Linked DNA regions of Homo sapiens: all the other regions are linked to region 2. Evidence: promoter capture Hi-C in 16 types of primary human blood cells and fetal thymus (Javierre and others, 2016). All regions are on one chromosome and are shown on one strand. The core of a region is centred on a gene start or on the middle of the fragment in contact, and the rest is flanking DNA. Distances in the headings are between cores, read along the strand shown. Region 1 overlaps FILNC1 (FOXO induced long non-coding RNA 1). Region 2 holds the start of HECA (hdc homolog, cell cycle regulator). Region 3 has its middle 7.6 kb from the start of FILNC1.

Region 1 (2,989 bases), core at 161-2,660, 710 kb after region 2:
CAGCAAACTACCTAATCGTACTGAATGCTTTCATTATTCTCATTTTAAAAAAGGGAATAGTATTACCAACATTATGGAAGTTATCAGTGAGGTGTTACACATAATGCCCATAGAAACATGCCTACCCCATAGTAGTATGTGTTAGCTATCATTGTAAGCATTGAATGGAGTCATGTATAAAATACCCAAAAAGGCATCTGATGCATGATAGATAATCCCTTAACCATAGAGAAAGCAAGATTCTCTCTATATGGATTCTCCAGGGTCACCTTTTTTATCTAATTTGAAATGTTGCACCCCCTCTTTTCGAACACACAAAATATGACTGAATAACATGATCCTGGTCACTCAAGTTGTTTTTTGTTGAGTTTCTTTATCTTCATTTTCTCATTTCTACTAAAGGCTGTGTAGTATAGAAATTACAAGCTCATACCTACCCTTTATAAAATTAATCAATGATTTACTTTCCCAATAAAACTGTATCTTTTTTCTTTATATATTTCCACTTTATTTCTTTATATTTATAATTGTATTAGCTTCCCTCTTAAAGACTGATTGTTTATCTCCTCATATAAGTACATTTTGATACCTGCAACCTGAATGAATATTTCTTTGCCTTTCATCTCACTGGGTCTCTCAGCAGCATTGGACAATGTTGGCATCTTCTTGCCTTTTGAATTATTCTCTTTCCTTATCTTCCACAATTCCTCTATTTTCCTCATACCTATCTCTCTCTTCCATCTGTGTTGCCCTTGCAGGCTCCTTCTTCTCTATCAAACTATTAAATATGTCAGTATTTCAAGGTTCTTCCTAAGCCATCTCCTTTCCTCATCAAAATTTTTTTGGCAGCTAATTTTCTTTACTTTTTCAATTTAATATTTCTGTTATTGTCTTCCCTATCCTTCCAGTTATCCAAGATAAAATTTCAACCCAGTCTGTCTCCTTCTTTCCCAGATCATTCTTTTGATAGTGTGCCCTTGTTACATATTTGTGGAATGGATAAATTATATAACCTCTCACACGACAGATTGGATTGGACACTTAAAAATCTGCATGATTTAGTTCCTACAAACCTTTTCTCCCCACAGGAATGCTATATTCCAATAAAATGCTCTACCCGTTGTTCTCAGAAAAACCTGTAACGATGAGAATATAGCATCCTTTTTTTTCTTTTCTTTGAGATGGAGTCTCACTCTGTCACCCAGGCTGGAGTGCAGTGGCATGATGTTGGCTCACTGCAACCTCCGCCTACCAGGTTCAAGTGATTCTTCTGCCTCAGCCTCCCAAGTAGCCGGGATTATAGGTGTGCACCACCACGCCCGGCTAATGTTTGTATTTTTAGTAGAGACGGGGTGTCACCATATTGGCCAGGCTGGTCTCAAACTCCTGACCTTGTGATCCTCCTGCCTTGGCCTCCCAAAGTGCTGGGATTACAGGTGTGAGCCACCTCGCCCGGCCTCCTTTTTTTCTTAAATAAAGACTGGAAGCCAATAGCATGTGGTGAGAACTTAAAAGAGTCATTACTAGGATGGACATTTGATAGCCTTTTATGTTAATAAGAATACAACCATTAAGTGATGAAGTAGTGCCATCCTTGATCTTCCAGATCAAAAAGCAAAAGAGAAAAAGATAAACAGCAGCAAAACTCTTCTTTAAGCCCGAATAGCCAAGACAACCCTAAGCAAAAAGAACAAAGCTAGAGGCATCATGCTGCCTGACTTCAAACTATACTACAAGGCTACAGTAACAAAACAGCGTGGTAGTGGGGTATAAGAACAGACACATAGACCAATGGAACAAAATAGAGAACTCAGAAATAAGACCAAGCACCTACAACCATCTGATCTTCAACAACCTGACAAAAATGAGCAATGGGGAAAGGATTCCCTATTTAATAAATGGTGCTTAGAGAACTGGCTAGCCCTATGCAGAAAATTGAAACTGGACCCCTTCGTTGCATGATGTGCAAAAAGTAATTCAACATGGTTTAAAGACTTAAATATAAAACCCCAAACTATAAAAATCCTAGAAGAAAATCTAGCCAATACCATTCAGCACATAGGCACAGGCAAAGATTTCATGATGAAAACGCCAAAAAAATTGCAACAAAAGCCAAAATTGACAAATGGGATCTAATTAAACTAAAGATCTTCTGCATAGAAAAAGAAACTATCATCAGAGTGAACAGGCAACCTACAGAATGGGAGAAAATTTTTGCAATCTATCCATCTGACAAGGGTCTAATATCCAGAGACTACAAAAAAGTTAAACAAATTTACAAGAAAAAAATGAACAACTTCATTAAAAAGTGAGCAAAGGACATGAACAGATACTTCTCAAAAGAAGCCATTCATGTTGCCAACAAACATGAAAAAAAAGCTCAACATCACTGATCATTAGAGAAATCAAATGAGTTTTCTCTAATGGTATCAAAACCATAATGAGATACCATCTCACGCCAGTCCAAATGGCAATTATTAACAAGTCCAGAAACAACAGATGCTGGCGAGGCTGTGGAGAAAAAGGAACACTTTTACACTGTTGGTGGGAGTGTTCAATTAGTTTAACAATTGTGAAAGACAATGTGGAGATTCCTCAAAGATCTAGGGGCAGAAATACCATTTGACCCAGCAATCTTATTATGGGGTATATACCCAAAGGAATATAAATCATTCTATTATAAAGACATATGCATGGGTATGTTCATTACAGCACTATTCACAATAGAAAAGACGTGGAATCAACCCAAATGCCCATCAATGATAGACTGGATAAAGAAAATGTGGTACATATACACCATGGAATACTATGCAACATAAAAAGGAACGAGATCATGTCCTTTGCAGGGACATGGATGGAGCTGGAAGCTGTTATTCTCAGCAAACAAATGCGTAAGCAGGAAAACCAAACACCAAATGTTCTCACTTATAAGTGGGAACTGGATGATAAGAGCATCCCTGCAGATGATGGACACATTGCAGGGAACAAC
Region 2 (3,146 bases), core at 304-2,803:
GAGCCACCGCTGGGGCCGCTTCCATACTGTGGAGTGTACTTTCATTCTCAATAAATCCCTGCTTTCTTCTTTCCTTGCTTTGCTGGGCGTTTGGTCCAATTGTTTGTTCAAAATGCCAAGAACTTGGACGACTTGCAGTCAAGACCCTCTAATGGTAACAACAACACCGTGACAGAGCTTTTACTAAAGGGCTGAATTAAAGATTACACTATAAAAGGGGAACACTGTAAAGCTGTCAGCTAAACTAGTCTTTCCTCCACAGTTCGTGAGGAAGGAACCTAATTTATACATTCAACAAATTTATGCCAGCTGTTCTCTGATGTGCCCAAGGCAGATAAAATCTATCCATGGAGGTTTCATTTCAGTGAGAGGGAGATATACAAGAAATAAGTAAACACCTACATTGCCAACATAATTAGAGATGGAGGAGGAAAATAACAGGGTGGAACTTCTGACAGCTCTCCTGGGAAGGTCTCTGTGGAAGTGATGTATTTGAGCTGAGACCTGAAGGAAGGGAAGGAGTTGGCCGAAAAGGTAGAATAGAATTGCAGAAAGAGATCAAGGGGAGCTCTTCCCAGGGGTCCCCTGCCCTCATATTGCCTGTCTTCACTGGTGTCACCTAATCTCCTACTGCTCATAACCTGGCTACCTATCTTTCACTATCTTTCAGGACAACTCAGCCCTATGCATAGGGATGGGTTCCCCCCAAGCAGGGACTGCTTCAGAGTCCAGGCAACATCTAGTTACATCCCTGGATGATGGGTCTTGTTTGAGTGAATTGTTTTCACCACCAGACTGTGAAGGCTTCCCATTCAGGACCCTGGTGTTCATCCCCATTGTCTGGGAACTCTACCCTGTTTCTTTCTTTCTTTTCTTTTTTTTTTTTTTTTTTTGAGACAGAGTCTCGCTCTGTTGCTCAAGCTGGAGTGCAGTGGCGCGATCTCGGATCCCAGGTTCAAGTGATTCTCCTGCCTCAGCTTCCCGAGTTTCTGGGACTACAGGCGCACGCCACCACGCCCAGCTAATTTTTTTTTGTATTTTTAGTAGAGACAGGGTTTCACCACGTTGGCCAGGATGGTCTCGATCTCTTGACCTCGTGATACACCCGCCTCGGCCTCCCAAAGTGCTGGGATTACAGGCATAAGCCACCGCGCCCGGTCCCCTGTTTCTTTAATTACTGTTACTGAAAGGCATAGCCTTTGAATGAGTTATTAATCCAAAATCTTTTGTTTTCCATTCTTGCTCTAGTCACAGCTTATTTTTCCAGACCATACTGTTCTAAGCCTCAATTACATTAAGGCCAGGAGGCCACCGAAGAACTCCACATGCCACTGCACTGGCGGGTGGAGCAAGTCAAGCAGGGCAGCTCATGAACGCCCGGGAGTCCAGGAGGCCCGGGTGGGGACGCCTGGATGACGTCACTCGAGGTGGGCAGGCCCCGCGCGGGGCGTGACGTCACGCGGGCGGTCCCGTCAGCCGTGAGGTCACCTGGTGGGCGCGGCCAGGCCGAATCCCCAGTGTCGTCACGGGAGGGGGCGGGCCCAGAGCGTGTCAGTGCAGCCGAATCAAAACAAGCCGGAGACCCGCCTTTTCCCTCCGGCTCGGGAGCGTCTCGCTTGCGCCCCGGGCCCGCGGCGCCCGCGCGGCTGCGAGCCTCGGGTGGCCGCGTGCCGGCTCCAGGAAGCCGGAGAGGGCGCGGCGGCCAGGATGGCGCGGCACGGGCCGTGCGGCTAGACGGGAGCCGAGGGAACCGCCGGCTCGCGCCCTCCGTTCTTTCCCGGAGCCGGCTTCACGCAGGGCCGGGAACGGCCGTGCCTCTGGGATCCGCCTTCGCTGACGCCGGGCACCTACCTGGACGCGAGCGAGCGAGATGCCCAACCCCAAAAACAGCAAAGGCGGCCGCAAAAACAAGCGCGCCAACAGCAGCGGCGACGAGCAGGAAAATGGAGCCGGGGCCCTGGCAGCGGCGGGCGCGGCGGGAGCGGCGGCCGGGGGGGCCCTGGCGGCGGCGGCCGGTTGCGGGGCGGCGGCGGCGGGCGCGCCGGGCGCCGGAGGCGCGGCGGGCGCCGGAGGCGCGGGGACTGGCGCCGCGAACGCTGCGGCCGCCGCGGGGGCTGCGGCCGCGGGCGATGCCAAAAACGGTAAGACGGGGCTGGCGGGGCGAGCGCCAACTTCCTCCCCGACGGGGACGGCGCGGTGGCGGGGCCCTGGGTGGCGCGGGCGGTGCGTGGACAATGCGAGAGTCAGGAAGTGCTCACCCCGCCCCTCCGCCCCGCCGCGGCTGCCCCTTCGCGGTCCCCACGCCTGGCGGCGGGGACAGATCTGCGGCCCCTGCCCGGTGTCCGCGCGGGGGGCAGCCCGCGCCCCACACTCTGAGGGGCTCCCGGCTGCGGCAGCGCTGCCCTCGGGCCCAGCCTGCTGCCCGCGCTGGCACTGCCCCGCCGTGTGTGCCGGGCCGAAGGGAGGAAGGAAGGGAGGAAAGAGCCGCCCAAGTTGAGAAGAATGATCCGATTGAAAACTTAGGCACCGGTTAATTCTTCCCGGTGCTCCAAGGCCACCCGTAACCCCCGGAATGAAGGAGAGAGAGCCTCAATTCTTAGCACACCCAGGCTTGCTGCGTCGATCGCCACAGGTGAAGAGGCCTCGAGACATTTAGGGCCTCTGTGTTTGCTCTTTAATTTTTTGGCTTGCTTGAGGAAGGAAGAGAATCTGAACTTGACTTCCGTTCTCAGCCCGGAGTTAAAAAAAAAAAAAAAAAAAGAAAAGAAAGAAAAGAAAAATCATTCTCTATGTCATTGTGCTTAACATTTTCAGAAGGAAGCCTCATAATCTTAGGTAGTGCCTGAATGTTCCTTTTGAGGGGACACTTAGGAACTGGCCCAGATGTGACAGGATTTCTGTTCTCATTACAGAGCCATGGTTTTCGTTATAAGGTGCTGGGCAAACACTTACTTATTTGGACAGTTCTTTGAATTCCTCTAGTCAGGCACTTTTTCCAGGAAGACAACGTAGGTATTTTAATGAAGGGAGATTTGAATTGTTATATCTGGCTTTTAATTTATAGCGTCAGCTTTTGAAGCCATTCTTTATGTAGATCAGGCACTTTTTTGTTTTGTTTTTTTTTTTTTAGACGGAGTTTGCAATTT
Region 3 (3,216 bases), core at 145-2,644, 630 kb after region 2:
ATCCACTCTTGTTTTTTAAAGGATTTGAAAAGATTAATGAGATTAAATACAACATATCATTAAAAATTGTTAAAAAAAGGAACACGAAACGAGATTCATAAAATAGAGTTAAAATTAAGACTAAATTGAAAACAGATCCTGCAAACACTTGCACCCTTGCCAAAAATTTGGGCCTAAGCTTCCTGGCAACTAACCTGAAATAAATTAGGTACGTGATCAGGTACACAATAGATAGTGTTTAAGTGACAGAAATAGTTCACACTGGTCAGGAGAACTGTAACGACTCTTAATGCAAAATACAGGCAAAGACCTCTTGAGGATGTTCATCAAGTTATGACTGCATAATGCCTCTCATTCATGACAATTCTTAAGCGTGGACCAGCTTGAGTTTCATGAGGTGTGTTTACAGTGTCTTTCAGTATGAACAATCTTCACATCAAATGTAGTTCAGTAAAAGCAATTCTACTGATATTTATACAGGAGTTCTATGAAATAATTTCCTCTAGTCCGTCTAAATTTGGGAATAGATATGAGAGTATCTGCCCAAATGGAAGGACTACTCTATCAATTAGGTAGGGCTAGTTTGTGCCAGAAAATGTCAGTTGCTTAAAACTACAATATTTAATTTTTGTTCAGGCAACACGTTCACAATGGGTTAAAAAAGGACTCTGCTCATTGAAGTTATTAAGGAACCCTTGGTGAATAGAGGCTTCATGCTTTCATGATCACAGAGACTTGGGGAAAGGACACAGCAAACCACGTAGTAGCTCTTAAAACTTTGGCCCAGAACAGTCATCACGTCTGCTGACTGAAGCAAATCAGTCATCAGGCCAGGCCAGTCTTCTATAGAAAGGGATGTGCAATCCTCCCATAGGGAAGTGCACTGAATATTGTAAACAACAATACAGGTTATGACAACCATGTGTCCTTAACAAAAAAACCTAAATAATGATTTTCTCAACTGTCATTTCCCAACATATTGGGTGACAAAAATTTCCAAATTGCATCATTCCCTACTGACTCCCTGAAGTGGTAGTGTTCTCTGCTGGCAGTTTAAAATGAGAACTGTCTGCTTTCAAGGATAGACCGGCTGCGGGTAGGATTGATATTCTACCATGAAAATGCAGCAGCTTAAAGGAGCCATGCCAGAATACTCTCCACCACTTAATACTTTTTATTGCTTTTGACAACTTAAACTCCACATTTTTTCCTTCTCTAGGAAAACATATTGGTAACTAGACATATACATAACATAGATTGGTATAATGATGATGCCTTTTATGATTCACCTTAACCATTCTTTCGTGACCCCTGCCATCAAAAACATTCAGTGACTTCCAGTGGCATTCCTAGCATTTTTGACACCTTGGCTGGATCATTTTTATAACACCCCTCACTTTGTGATGCAATTATTTTCATGTAGTAATTAGCAATCAATATAATTTTTAAATCTTCTGTTTTAAAACAAATGAAAAGAAGTGATTTTGATTCTAAAGATTGTGCAAATTTGGGATATTTTATATATGAACTAAAATTTGCACTTATCAAATAAAAAATGTTATACTTGCATTTTGCATTTAAACGAAAATAGGAAACTCCAAGTGATCCCATAATAACTCAAGTTCTGTTTCTTTGACTTAGAATTGCAGCTATGTCTGCCCAAGGCAATTGCCAAGGTTTCCCAATTTATCCTGAATGATTGTAGCTGAGTGGGGTACGTTTGGGGAACAATTGTTTAACTGGGAATTTGCTGAGTTAACTTTTATGTTGAACACAATATTTAATAAAGGACAAATAATAAAAATGTGCTAATTCAAACCACACAATGTATTATTAAAACTCAATGGTAATGGCAGCAATTGTTTAAAACTAAGACCAGAAATGATTTTTTTTTTTTTTTGAGGAGGAGTATTTTATCACTTCATTGTTTAGAAATGTCGGCAGGAAGTGATGATTAGAATCAGAATGACTGGGTTTTATTATAGCTTTAAAATTTTTTATAGACAGGGTACCCCCTCATTGTCCATACCCAGAACTCCCTCATACTTGGTCAGTCACTGGTGACTCCTCAGTGTTTACATAATTGAGTCTAAAGTGGTGATCTTTAGCATAGTTCTCCATCATATGGCCTCAACCTCCTTCCAGCCTACTCCTCCACAGTTCACCTATTGCGAAAATACCCCATCATCTAGAATTGTGAAAATATTCTGTTCCCTGAGCCCTCCTCTTAAAAAAATGCTTCTCTGTGTGTTTGTATTTCTCCCTCTGACAATGTAAGTGTAAAGAGCACAGGCTTTAGAGCCAGGATTTTGTGGGACTGGATTTTCCCTCTGCAGCTTATAAATTGTGTGACCTTGGACAAGTTATCCAACCCATCTGGGCCTCATCCTCCTCATCTGCAAAAATATTGATTACAGAGCCCATTTACAGATACCACTGGATGAGATGAGAACACATAAAATATATGTTAAATTGTCTTATCCCTCCATATCTTTCATTATTCTCCCTTAATAAGTTTTGCATATCTAACAGTTACAGGACTTTGATCAAAATAGGCCTGCATAGAGTTTGAACAACTGAATTGAATTTATTGGGCTTCATTCATGATATACAAGCTTCCAAAGTCACATGGTCTAAGCCCAAGCTCCAGTTCTTTCTACAATTGCCTCAGCTGTGAGTCTTGAGCATTGTCATAAGAAGAGAATCTAGGATATTTCTCATTTGGCTTCAGTTCCTCTTCTTCAGCTGTCCAGACCTCTTTCATTTAGAAAAACACTGTGACAAAATGAGGAGGCTGCAGAAGCACAAGTGGGAATGGCAGCTGACCGCACGGGGAGAAGGTGTCTATTTCACCTTCAGGACCATCTTAGCATTTTGAGCAGCTCATAGGTCAGGAATGCTGTTGTCATCAGGGTTAGAGCTATGTCCTGAATAAATACCAAGTTAGGAGGAAGATGACTCAGAGCTGCCTAAACCTCATACTCCTCTGATATTTTAAGCAACAGAGAGTGGCAAGCAGCTGTTAGATATCTTTGCTTCTTTGTTCAGGCAAAGCTTAGCCTGTTCCATTTGGAAAGAAAATGGTCATAATTTCCAGCCCATTTTAAACTCTTCCTTCTTAGAATTGTTACTGCACACATAACCTGGGTCACACAACTTAGTTTTCTGCAATCTCAACTCTTTTTCTAATTATTTCCTCTTCCCCAAATGGATATT

What was found. Contacts are between HindIII fragments. The CHiCAGO score rates a contact against its expected background, and 5 or more counts as called.
Region 1: a contact is called between a fragment that was not itself captured here and the fragment with the promoter of HECA in region 2, in 1 of 17 cell types (monocytes). The highest score is 5.9, in monocytes.
Region 3: a fragment that was not itself captured here is called in contact with the fragment with the promoter of HECA in region 2 in 1 of 17 cell types (M2 macrophages); the score reaches 6.5 in M2 macrophages.

The regions. Positions count from the first base shown.
Region 1 is chr6:139,842,144-139,845,132 of GRCh38, forward strand. The region is part of intron 1 of FILNC1 (FOXO induced long non-coding RNA 1); the gene reads left to right. Among named protein-coding and RNA genes, the nearest start is that of FILNC1, 73 kb to the left of the region's middle. The HindIII fragment of the contact is 3,555 bases long and covers 1-2,989 here.
Region 2 is chr6:139,133,527-139,136,672 of GRCh38, forward strand. It overlaps HECA (hdc homolog, cell cycle regulator), which reads left to right and starts at 1,554. Exons shown (of 4, transcript NM_016217.3): 1 at 1,554-2,141. The coding sequence starts at 1,871. RefSeq lists enhancers at 18-67, 1,346-1,640, 2,506-2,625 and silencers at 1,346-1,535, 1,646-1,725, 2,126-2,395. The HindIII fragment of the contact is 5,734 bases long and covers 1-3,146 here.
Region 3 is chr6:139,761,906-139,765,121 of GRCh38, forward strand. No RefSeq gene overlaps it. Among named protein-coding and RNA genes, the nearest start is that of FILNC1, 7.6 kb to the right of the region's middle. The HindIII fragment of the contact is 2,437 bases long and covers 177-2,613 here.